Regions from separate parts of the Homo sapiens genome. Here region 1 is linked to region 2. Evidence: promoter capture Hi-C in 16 types of primary human blood cells and fetal thymus (Javierre and others, 2016). All regions are on one chromosome and are shown on one strand. Each heading gives the region's core, a stretch centred on a gene start or on the middle of the fragment in contact. The rest is flanking DNA. Distances are from core to core; before and after follow the strand shown.

What was found. Contacts are between HindIII fragments. The CHiCAGO score rates a contact against its expected background, and 5 or more counts as called.
Region 1: a fragment that was not itself captured here is called in contact with the fragment with the promoter of WSB2 in region 2 in 1 of 17 cell types (activated CD4 T cells); the score reaches 5.6 in activated CD4 T cells.

Annotation. Positions count from the first base shown.
Region 1 is chr12:106,295,741-106,302,245 of GRCh38, reverse strand. It overlaps a transcript of TCP11L2 not described here. Among named protein-coding and RNA genes, the nearest start is that of TCP11L2, 3.7 kb to the left of the region's middle. The HindIII fragment of the contact is 2,139 bases long and covers 487-2,625 here.
Region 2 is chr12:118,059,105-118,065,544 of GRCh38, reverse strand. WSB2 (WD repeat and SOCS box containing 2) reads left to right here and starts at 4,366. Exons shown (of 9, transcript NM_018639.5): 1 at 4,366-4,509. The coding sequence starts at 4,497. LOC124903030 (a long non-coding RNA gene) reads right to left here and starts at 4,085. Exons shown (of 2, transcript XR_007063479.1): 1 at 3,865-4,085. VSIG10 (V-set and immunoglobulin domain containing 10) reads left to right here. Exons shown (of 9, transcript NM_019086.6): 9 at 1-1,952. RefSeq lists a silencer at 4,907-4,956. The HindIII fragment of the contact is 4,146 bases long and covers 1,417-5,562 here.

The DNA of each region.
Region 1 (6,505 bases), core at 307-2,806, about 12 Mb after region 2:
CCCCTGGGCTTCCAGGCGCACTGGCGTGGACCACACTGCGAGCTCCCGGCCGCGCGTGGAACATTGAGTGCCCGCACACCCCTGTCTAGACGGGGCAATCGGAACTGGGTGCCCACCAACACACTGTCCACACTTACAGAGACAACCCAACCAACAACGCTGCTGGTGGGCTTTCCCACGCACGTCAGCCACTAACCGGGTCATCTCCAGTTGCGTCTACACCTCCACATAAACACGGGTCTAGATTTGCACCTGCACGGGACGATTAGCTCCTTGGAGTCACACCCATCCAGGCCCTCTGAAGACTTGGCGTGCGTGCAAAAGATAAAGCGTCTTACTTCCTCTAGGGTTCTTGGCAGCACCTATCTCCGGGAGAAGTTTCCACCTTGGTTAATGTAAATAACCAGTCCCAGGAGGGCTCTGTGCCGTCTGGCCTGCTGCTCAGCTCCTGCTGTGGGCGTGCTTGAGGGTGTAGAGAAACAAGCTTCCCCCAACTGTTCACATCAAAACTATGCCTTCTGCCAGGTGTAAATCGGTGCTGTATTACTTGGGAAATAGTTTCATGCAGGAACTACTTACATGAAGTTTGTATAGACTAAAGTATTTCTGTTTAGTGCCGAAATTATGTCTGGATTGTGGAGGCAGATTGGCCACCACCGTTCAAAAACAACAACAACAAACAACAGGCAACATTTTAAAGCAGGGTAGAAAGTCAGTTGTTCAGTGGTTACAACACAGACTCCTCTATGGTTCCAGTCCTGGCTCTGACATTCACTATCCATGAGATCTTGGTCTCTGGGGATAACAATGATAGCTATTTCCTTGGGTTATTTTGAGGATAAAGTGAAATAAAGCATGTGAAGTGCTTAGCAGGGTGCACAGTAAGCACTCTAAGTATTAGTTATTGAAATTCTTTGGCAAACCACTGTGGCCAAACTTAGCTGGTGATCTGTATAAATTTGTATCTGTGCCTCCTTTTGCCACTTTCCTCTCTTCTCCTAAAATATACAACCTAATAATACAGGTTAAGAGATTAAATAGAAGGTGCTGTCCCCACCTGAGTTCTTCCCTACAAACATGCTCTTATTTGTGTCATTCGTTGGATAAGTAATCAGAATGACAGAAGCCTCCAATTTCAATTCCTGCCAAATGACAACCACCACACAACTGCCATCACCACCCTAAAAACTCCACAATAGAAAGATGAACACCCAAATCCCCCAAACTTCTGGTAATTCTGTGACAATGACACATGGCAACATTACTTCCTTTGTTAGCTTTGTAAGGATTTAAGTATTGTTTTGAGCTATGACATAAGTTGGAGCAGGTGACCATGAGTCAGGGTAGTTGTCCTTTATACTGGAGTGACCAGCTGCCTGATCCTAGGCATGACACTTCTTTTAAAGTTCAGATATGTAGCTCTCAAAGCCACCAGGAAAGCAGCTTTTGTCAAAGCAAGTTCAACTGTAACATCAGAGAACCAAGCTGAGATAAGAAAAGATGCTGGAAATACTATCTTCTGTTACTTTAATGTTAAATAACTTGCTATCTGAAAACCCTTCTGTGAATTACCTGACCAACTGCCCTTGGCCTGACTTGTGTATAAAAGCACTTTGGGCCAGGCACGGTGGCTCATGCCTGTAATCCAAGCACTTTGGGAGGCCGAGGCAGGTGGATCACAAGGTCAGGAGATCGAGACCATCCTGGCTAACACGGTGAAACCCCGTCTCTACTAAAAATACAAAAAAATTAGCTGGGCGTGGTGGCACGCACCTGTAATCCCAGCTACTCTGGAAGCTGAGGCAGGAGAATCGCTTGAACCTGGGAGGTGGAGGTTGCAGTGAGCCGAGATCACGCCACTTTACTCCGGCCTGGGCGACAGAGCGAGACTCCATCTCAAAACAAAACAAAACAAAAACAACACTTTGAAAAAATGGAGTGCTGTAAAATATAAGGCAGTTCCCTCAAAAATGAGCCTTGTATCACATTGTTGCTCAGAGGGCTCAGACAGTCATAACACAAAATCTTCCCTGCTCAGGTTATGTTTATGGCTTTCTGAGGAAAAAAAAAAAACAACAAAATCTGAAAAGGCAACCTCTTTAGAAGTAAAATAATTAGCATTTTATTTGAAGAAGACATATTATTACACCTAGTTTTTCTAACTTACCTTTTTGAACCACTTAGAGAACTCACAGTAATACAGTTTTTTTTTCTCCCTGTAAATTACACGGTAGACTAAATGTGGTCTATCACTCTTGGCAAAAGACTAAGGGCAGATCAAAATTTTTGTTCGATGAAGAAATAGAAATACTCATTTTCTTTTTACACATCTGAAATCTGAGTTTTAAATTATAATAAATCATTGACAAAAATCTAAAAATGTAATTACAGTTGGATTTGCAACCTCTCAGCCTTATAACTTTTCTAGTGGAGTTGCATATTGTACTGATTTAATGTAATGCAAATTTAGCTATACGGGACTCATCTAGGACAGAATATGAGGAACACAAGAGAATAATTTAAATACTTCCAGTGATCTTGTCCCCTATTTCTCTCTATGGGAGTTGTGAGGCTTCTCTTACTGTGTTTATCTGAGTTTCTGAGCTTCTCATTATGTTCCAAGCTTCTTTCCCACGGCTGGCTTCATGTTCGTGCAGTCTGGGCAGTTGCACAAGGCCCCACCCTTGGAAGAGCCCTGTGCTTGGTTTAATACATTGCTGCTGTTGTGTTGAGATTCTTAATACTGTGCTTTTTGAAAGGGGGCCTTGCATTTTCATTTTGCACTGGACCTGGCAAATTATGTAACTGGTCCTGATCTCCCCACACAGAATATGAGTCTAGTGGTTAAAGGTGCTTATCTTCCTGCCCCTAAGTGCCAATCAATTATTTCAACCAGTGCTCACTTGAAGAAACTTATGTCTGTTTCAATGCTGGAAGAAAAGAAATAGCCCCAAACAAACAAAAAACGACAAAAACTTGGTGTATCCCAGGTCTTATGGCTCATTAAAAAATTTTCAAGAGTAATTTTCACTGCACTTTGACCTCATGGTCTTCCTTAAGAGCCTAACCCCTCCTGTAAGATGTGACTCCATTGTAATTGAAAAAAACAAAAACAAAAAGCAAAAAAATGGGCTGGGCATGGTGGCTCAGGCCTGTAATCTCAGCACTTTGGGAGGCTGAGGTGGGTGGATCACCTGAAGTCATGAGTTCGAGACCAGCCTGACCAACATAGTGAAACCCTGTCTCTACTAAATACAAAAAATTAGCCAGGCATGGTGTGCATACCTCTAATCCCAAATACTTGGGAGGCTGAGGCAGGAGAATCACTTGAACCCAGGAGGCAGAGGTTGCAGTGAGCCAGGATTGCACCATTGCACTCCGGCCTGGGCAACAAGAGTGAAACCTGGTCTCACAAAAAAAAATGGCCGGGCATGGTGGTTCACACCTATAATCCCAGCAGTTTGGGAGGCCGAGGCAGGTGGATAACTTGAGGTCAGGAGTTTGAGACCAGCCTGACCAACATGGCAAAACCTCATCTCTACTAAAAATACAAAAAATTAGTTGGGCGTGGTGGCACACACCTGTAATCCCAGCTACTTGGGAGGCTGAGGCAGGAGAATTGCTTGAACCTGGGGGGCGGAGGTTGCAGTGAGCTGAGATTTCACCACTGCACTCCAGCCTGGGCAACAGAGCGAGACTTTGTCTCAAAAAAAATTTTAAACTAAAAATTAAATTAAAAAAAATGTTTTTCAAAGGAATCCCACTTCTTTTCTCTCCCCTGTCCATCTTCAGGTGCTACAGAAAGGGCCAAAAATCAGTGAGGGGGAAAATACAATAGAAAGCAAAAAGAAGAAAATGAATTTGGCTAATACACCAACTAGAGAATTAGGCCCTGAATGTTCAAAAATTAACTGCATACCTCCTACTCAATTTTACTGTGAGCTCTAAAAATAAGGTCTATTAAAAAAAATTAACCACACCTTTTAGGCAATTTTTTTTTGTTCTATATCCTGTGATTTGGAAGATAAGGTAGATTTAGATAATTGACCAGTTTTGACTATTAATTGATGCTTGAACAATTTTCCAAAGCACCAAAACCAGTTTTCTTTTGACTCCACTGAACTGAATTAGTAAAAAAATTAACAGTTATTTCTCATTTCAATTGCCTGTACCTTCACATTTAGGCACTGCCCAGTCCCTGACCCTGTCACATACTAAAAAGACAAATATTCTTAGTGCTCCCTACACCCCACCCTGGGCCCCTTCCTCTTACCTGGGCACCACTGTTGTCCCCTGGGAAGCAGAAAGAGTGAGAACCAGCAGTGAAGACAACTTTGGGGCAGGAAGTGGGAGGGGCCAAAGAGAGTTGAAGCTCAAAGGAACACCTATGGGAGGCCAAACAGGTGATGGCTCAGACCTCTGACCAAGCCAGTCACTCTCTTTAGCTCATCTCCAGGCCAGCAGGCAATCAACCATTTTCTAAATGATTGCTTTTCTAAAGTGTTCATGGATGAACACAGGCCCTCAGTTTTAAAATCAAATGAAATTGTCAAATGGGCATGAGGAAGAGCTACTAAAATAAGATGCAATCTCCAGAAAACATAAAGGAAGGATTAAGAAATGTGACTTTTTAGGTACACGATTCAACATGAAAACATGAGTTACAGAACACTGATTATGGGGTGACACGATTTATGCTAGAGAGAGCTTACACTAGAGACAGTACATATGCATTGTGTGTATATGAAATACATAGAAATGGACTAAAAAGAATCTCAACCGTTTAGAAGGCTATTTAGGCAAGTTAGTTCCTGGTTTATTCCGTACACATTCAAGCAGCTTATTTCTTTTACAATGAGAATGTCATTCATATATTACTAGTCTATTTCACACTGCCATACAATGCAACTATTCTTATTATTGTATGTCCTCCTAAATATACCTTAGTGAAGATAGGCTATTGATACTGCACAATAAGCAAATTTCCCATCTCTTTTTTATTCATATTTAAGAAAGCCATGACAACAAATGGAGCTTTTCATGTAAAATATATGAAAGAATAGATTTACAAAAAGTCCCTCACTATGATATGTCAAAATTATTAATGCTGGGTGGGGGAATATTGATCTTTACTTTTTAAGTTCTTCTCCTCAAGCCCTATTCTTCGATAGCCAAAGTGCATGGAGTTTGCTTTCATTTTAAACATGTTTTTTGCCCCAAACTCTGACCTCTAAAACCTTCCCTTTCTTTGATGATAAACTGGACAAATGTCCTTTCTCAAAGTTATATGGGACTTTAATAATTATACTACCTTTTTTTTGTTGTTTCTTTTTTTTGAGACAGAGTCTCACTCTGTCAGCCAGATTGGAGTTCAGTGGCATGATCTCGGCTCACTGCAACCTCTGCCTCCCGAGCTCAGGCGATTCTTTTGCCTTAGCCTCCTGAGTAGCTGGAATCACAGATGTGTGCCATCACGCCTGGCTAATATTTTGTATTTTTAGTAGAGATGGGGTTTCACCATGTTGGCTAGGCTGGTCTCGAACTCCTGACCTCAAGTGATCCACCCCTTGGCCTCCCAAAGTGCTGGGATTACAGGCATCAGCCACCACACCCAGCCGTACATTTTGAAGACAAAAAAATTGAGAGCTCTGAACATTCAAATGCCTGAATAGTAGCTTTTACCTGAGTTCCTGGGCATTCTAGAGGAAGGTCATATACTAGGGCACTAAGGGTTTATGTTGACTAAAGGGATACTCAGCAGTGACTCACTCAGTTGGCAGGTCAAGAATAGAAACCAGAAGAACTCACTTCATGGCTTCTCTCCGCAAATACACACATATACACGTGCAGTGTCACATGCAAAGTATTACCTATTGGCATAATTATCTAATTTCCATAACAACATATCAACAAGCATACCAGCTCTGTACCAACTAAGTGCCCAAAGTATTTATAATCACATTCCATTACTCTAGAAGGGTGCCTGGACCAGATACTGGGGTGGCTGTGCCTTCTAGAAAGCAAGAATGGAATGCAGCTTTATACAAAAATATGAAGCTGTTTACATAGATATATATTCACCCGCACACATGCACACACGAAACATTTCTGGCCAATTCCCTCAGAGGGATCCCAAGCCATGCCATTGTTTATGTTACATGTACATCTGCATGTATATTATCAGTAAATTCCCACAAAGCTCAGTATAGGCTGGGCGCAGTGGCTCATTCCTGTAATCCCAGCATTTTGGGAGGCCGAGGTGGGCGGATCAACTGAGGTCAGGAGTTCAAGACCAGCCTGGTCAGCATGGTGAAACCCCGTCTCTATTAAAAATACAAAAAATTAGCTGGGCGTGGTGGCGCACTCCTGTAGTCCCAGCTATTTGGGAGGCTGAGGCAGGAGAATCACTTGAACCCAGGAGGCAGAGGCTGCAGTGAGCCAAGATCACGCCACTACACTTTTGCCTGGGTGGCAGAGTGAAACTCAGTCTAAAAAAAAAAAAATG
Region 2 (6,440 bases), core at 3,117-5,616:
TGCAGGTGTGGTTGGGGAAGGTCTGTTTTCTTGGATGAAGGAACTAAACTAAGCATATCAGAGCACTGTCTTAACCAGTTTTATTTCCCTGGAGATAGAATTCTTTTAAAAAGAGTTAGGGAGCTGGTAATAGGAAGTGCCTTTCATTATAACTACATTTTGCAGAGCTTCATATTTATATACAAGCCTCCTAGGTGATACACTGTTAGCTTGCAGACTTTCCTATGCTTCATTTCTCCTGTTGCTTTCAAAGAAGGCAGGAGACACGTTTAATAACGGAGTATCTGGTGATAAGAATTGCTTGGGCAAACCAGCTCATCTGGACTCTTTCTCAGTCTTGGAAGTGGGAAGAGGAAAACTTGTTTCCTTCCTGCTTCTTAAGGATATTCTGAGGGTACACTGATCAATAACACTAAATTTGGAATGAAAATACCATGTGATGAGTTTAGCCTGCTGATGCTTCCAGTAGATCCTTGTATAGTTTCAAGATTTAAGTTTTCCGATTTCATATAAATTTCTTAAAGTCGAGGACCTTATAAGGGTGCAATGGATGTTTGCTAAATATGAAAAACTGACTTGAATTTGCACTCTTTAATGTTGCGTATCTGCTCTAGTGGGCAGGACCTAGGGCTTAAAGGGGAACTTCCTTTCTCCAATTCTAGGAACTGGGACTCTAAAATGAGAAGCTGGTTGTCTGAAGTAACCCTGCAGGTGTGGTTGGGGAAGGTCTGTTTTCTTGGATGAAGGGATTAAACTGAGCAAATCACTAGAAGTATGCCCTGTCCCCTGCTCAGAACACTGGGGAGCTCAAGAGTGGGCTGCAATGTGCACCCCTCAGGAATAGCTGTGAATTGCAGGTCTACTGGCTTTTTGCTTTTTGTCTTTTGCTGCAAGGTACCCCACGTACTTAACCATTCTCAACAGTGTAAATCAGTGTCATTTTAGAATGAGATACTCAGCTTGCTTCTAAAGTCACTGAATTACTGAGTGAGTCTCTCCTTTAGAGTCTTCGGCAACCAAATTCCAGAATTGAAGAGTCTACTACTCAGAGGCAACAAGATTAAAAAAAGAAAACACAAAAACTGTTGAGGTGAAAAAAAAAAAAAACCCTAGCTAGGAACACAGAGAATGTTTTGTAGGATCACTGGGATATTTTCCACAACTTCCTCTTCTCTAGCACACACATCTGTTGATAGGAAATATTTGAGGGTTTTTCCACTACCAAATGGGAGCTTCATGGTCCTGGTGTCAAACACTATAAACCTTTGACCAGCTGAGCTGTGACTGCTGTCACATATCTGAGTCCTGTGTGCACAGTAATATCCTGGGTCAGGTAAAATCCAGGTCTTCAAGTTTTAAGGATTTTTTGAAGAATTCGGGCTTCTTTAAGACGATCCATGCCCAAATCCACAAGCTTGTTGACAGTGGATTACAGTTTGTGTGGCAAAGTCCAAGTTGTTACACTGTGCTTTAAAAAAAATCTTATCTGCATGTATTGTTAACTTAGAGACCATGAGATCTATTTATCAGGACCAGGAAGATACACACTTCAGGTCCATTGCAACTGACTTTTTTCTTGTTTTTCTCAAACCCTGGTGGAGCCTGGGAAGGGGGCCTCCACAATTCTGTGGCTTTGATATTAGCCCCAATTCTCACAAGCACATACAAGCCCCATAATTGCCGCAGGAAAACACAAGATGGAAAATTGCAATAACCCATGCACTGAGACTTAGAAAATCATCCTTACTAGGCAAAATGTATTATGATGCAATAAGTGCCAACTGATATTTCTCACGTTGGGACTGGCCAGGAACTGCTGCAAAGAAAAATAAGCAGCTCCTTCTCCATTATTTACATTTTAAGATGTGGTGGGGGGAGGTTGGGAGAAATTAGTTCTGAGGTTATCATATGCCTTTTTTAAAAGATAATGGAATAAAGCTATTTTTAAGTAAGTGCTTTTGTGATCTTGATTGAGACCTGGTTAGTAAATTGAAAGACTTGGAAAAACGAACTTGCCAAAAAAAATTTTTTTTACTAGCTTTTTAAAAATTGGTAACAATATTCTTCTCACCTCAGCCCCGCCTTTTTTGTTTTTTTTTTTTTTTTTTCCTCCAGACGGAGCCTCCATCACCCAGGCTGGTGTGCAATGGCAAGATCTCAGCTCACTGCAACCTCCACCTCCTGGGTTCAAGTGATTCTCCTGCCTCAGTCTCCCGAGTAGCCGGGTTTACAGGTGCCCGCCACCACACCCAGCTAATTTTTGTATTTTTAGTAGAGATTGGGTTTGGCCATATCGGCCAGGCTGGTCTCGAACTCCTGACCTCAGGTGATCTGCCCGCCTTGGCCTCCCAAAGTGCTGGGATTACAGGCATGAGCCATCGCGCCCCGCGACCTTACCCTTTTATTCTTTTCCATGACGTGTACATAAAAACGAGGCCTGTAAGACTCCAGGAATCGAAGGAATTTGGGAGACAAAAAATGGAGACTCAGAAAATTAGAGAAGAGAAAAATGGGAGGGGGGAGCCTGGACAATAAAACGGGGGTCCTCAGGAGGCAGGAAATTAGCGATTAAATGGGAGCAGAGGTGGAGGAGGCCGACACTGGTGCCAGAGATAAAAGTGGAGTCCCAAAAAAAGGGGTGCGCTGGGCCGTTTTTAAAATTGGGAAACATAAAAAATACCCAGTGGAAAATGAAGAGAGAGAACGGGGCATGCTAAAGTTAACATGGGCGGCGAGAAAGGGACAGGTAGCCAGCGGAAAAGGGGGAGACTGAGAAACCGGCAGGTTCAAAGAAAAGAAAAAAAAAAACCGGCCAAGCGGGGTGAACAGGAGTGTAACCCAGGAGGCCAAACGGGACACAGGAAGGACGTACCCAGGGCTCATAAAACAGGGGCCTGGGTAAAAAAACCCGAAACATTAAAACGGAGAGACCATGGTGAAAAAGAACACGGGAACCTCAGTTACCGTAGAAAACATAGGTTGCGTTAGGAAGCAAAGAAATTTAAAATGGAACCACTGCGATCCGGAGCTCTGGGACCAGTGACCGGCAAATGGAGAGGGCACTTGGAGGGAAGCGAAGAAAGGCGGGGAGAAAGGAATGAGAGGCGGGAGAGTGACTTGAATGAAGCTGACACCAAGAACCGCGGGAAGAGCTTGGGCCCAAAGCAGGAAAGGGAAGCGCTCGAGTTGGGGGTAAGGGGAGGCATTTTGGGGACAATGAGCTGAGCTCAGTAAGAAATCCCCAAGCCACTGATACTACTGGGGACCGGACAACTAAGAAATGGGGTCTTTCAGGCATGAAAAGCCTCCATGATGACTCCTGCCCTGGCCCTGGAATGTTAAAAAGGGGGCGTCTGACCCAAGCGAGCCATTTCTTGAGGCTATGCGGGTAGACAGGGAGAGCAGGTTTCTCAGGGGGACGGGGACAGGCGAGGCTGTCGCCGTAGGTAGGTAAGGGGACAGTCTTCTTCCGAATCGCTCCTGCCCCGTTTTTTATCTCGTTCCCACCCCCACTCCGGTTTTCACCCTGCCCTCCTCTCCCCACCGCCCCGTGTTCTCCTCACTTCCCTCTCCCATTACCGGAGCCATTGAGTAGCCCCCCTTGTTTTACCCTAGCCTTGACCCTCGCCGCACCCCCCAATTCTTACGTCCTCCCCAGCACCCGGTTATTACACCTTCCTTCCACCCCCTCCCCATTTTCCCCTAAGCCCAGCTCTCCCCAGGTTTCTTCTCGGCCAGTATTCCCTCCAACCTATTTCTCCCGCCCCCATTTTTACCCGTTTCCCCCCTCATCGGCCTTCGCATGGCTCCATTTTCACCTGCCCCTCCCCTCGATTTCGCTTCAGCCCCTTTGGTTCCCCTTACCCCCACAGCCCTCGGTCTCCCTCTCTCCGTTCTCCCCGGATCGCCGCTTCCCCTGCTTGGTTTTTCTCTCAGCCCGGCTCTACCACTCTCCAACACCCCCTTTTCCCCTGAGCCCGGCTTCCCCTACTCCGGTTTCTATCGCTCCCCTTTTCCCGGTTTCCCTCAGCTCTGTTCACCTCCCTCCCTTCCCCGTTTTTATCCGGCGCTGGTTCCCCTCAGGACCCCGCACAACCCCTGGGTTTTATCCCGTTCGCGCCCCACCCCGTTTCCGCTCAGCTCCCCCCACCCCTGCCCCATTTTTATCTGGTTCGCGCGTCTTCCCCGCCCCCGTTTCCCCTGAGCAACCCCTCAGCTTTTATCCCGTCAGCGTACCGCCTCCCCGATTTTCCATCTTTTCCCTCAGCTGCCCCCCACCGTTTTTATCCCGTCCGCACCCCCCCTCCGTTTCCCCTGCGCCCCGCCCCCGCGCGTCTCCGCCCGCGCCCACCGCCATGTGACGGGAAGCAGCTGATGGCCTCTCCGGGCGGCGGCGGCGGCCTGGCCGGGGCGGGCGGCGCGGGGGCGGCATGAGGGCCCGCGGCCCGGGGGGCTGAGGCGCCCGCCGCCTGCCGCGGGGGCCGCTCGCGTCCTCCATGGAGGCCGGAGGTGAGTGGGGCCGGGCGCGCCCGTTCCCGCCCGGCGGGGCCCTGGCCCGTTCTCCCCGGGGAGGGGGGAGGCGACCCCGGGGCGGGCTGGGCGGGGTGGGGCGGGGGCTGGACGCGGCGGGGGCGTCCGGCCTGGGAGGTCCGCGCGGGGCCGGCGGGGGTGCGCGCCCGGCGACCAGCTTTGTTTCACTTTCGTTGTCAGTGGCCGCCACCCTGACTCCCGCCGGCGACAGGATCGGGAAGATCGGGCTTCTGCGGGAGGAGATCCCCCGACCGGGACAGAGGGGGCTCCCGGGTGGGACTCGGGGCGGGGGGCACCAAGCCCTAAAACGGAGATCCCCAAGGGGGTGGGTGCCCCTGGGTACCCAGGTGCCAGGGGACGCACTTGCATGTCTGGATGGGAGTCACCTCTGTCCCTCACAAGCTGTGTGATCGTGACAGTGGACAAGCCACTGAACCACCGCCACCCACGTCTCAGTTTTGATCTGCAAAATGGGATAATCCTAGTACCTTCCTCGGAGGGTGGCTGGGACCCGGTAAAAATGGGGTCTGGGGTCTGGGTTCCCTATTGAAACAATCTATTCCCAGCCTCTCCCACTGGAGATTAAGTCAGTGGAGGTGGGGCGGGACTGGAGACGCTGATCCCTGGTGACATGTATGATCAGGCAAATTTAGGATACACTGATGGGTGGGGACCTTGCCTCTATTCTTGTTAACTGCCATCCCCATCAGAAGACAGCGTGGAAGTCAGAGGATATTGGATATACCTCAAGCCAGCCCAGATGAACATAAAATCTCAGTGGGAAAGGTGTGTCTCTTATGCAAGGGGAAAAAAACCCCAAGACGCATGCACGCCTTGGCCCTCTCCCCTCCAACGACCTTCCCTCGGAACCCCACTTGGGATAGATTTAGAATTGATTCCGGGAGTCCCAGGTCTTGAAGGACCCGAGTTTAAATGTAATTTCCTTAGGAGAAATTTTCAGAGCAGGTTCAAGGCCTAGGGCTCAGAATTTGTTCCAGAACTTCATGGTAATCTTGCAGCCAAGTTCAAGCTTCATCCTGGTCTGGAGGGTTCTGATTGCTGATGGCTTGTTACTGTGGGTGGGAAGGTTGAAATCTGGGTATTCCCTGGGGTGGTGTTACTTTTTAATTTAGGAAATGACATTTCTTTGTTTGCTGAAGTCAGGCATTGAGTTAAAGGCAGCTCTCTCTCCTTCCCATCTAGATAAGGGCTTTCTTTTCAGTGAGTGTTACCCGTAGAATTCTTTTTAAAAGGGCCCCTACTGTTTGTGTAGATCCTATGTGAATCTTTTTATAGCTTCCGTTTGATTTCCATTGCCTCCTTACAGTTCAATCTGAAAGCAATCTGTAGCTAGCCTGCCTTTTTAACAGAAATCTGTTTCCAGTTCTGGGGTTTTCCTAAAGATTGACAACTTCGTTTTGAGGGTGTGGGCAGGGTTGTTGAGAGCTGCCAAGTTACTGTACAAAAAAGGCCAGAGTTTTAACTTATTTTCAAATGGAATAAAGCCCATTGTAAAGGAAATACAATGGGCAACAGTTGAAATCTTCAGAGCAATGGTTAGACTTCACTTATTCATTCAGCAAATATTTGTTGAACGTCTACTATGTGCCAGGCACCCTCTAGGCCAGCCCCGACCAACAGAAGTCTAATGTGAGCCACGTATGTAATTTAAAATGTTCAAGTAGCCACATTAAAAAAAAGAAAAAAGAACTAGGTGACAATTTAAAAACTCTTTCAATACAACATGTCTAAAATATTCCTGCTACATGTAATCAAATAAATTGTAATGTAATGTTTTAGATTTTTTTTTGTGCTAAGTGTTCAAAACGTGTTGTGTATTTTTTACTTACAGCCCATCTGAATTCTGACTTGCCACATTTCAAGTGGTTGGTAACCACATGTGATTTCCC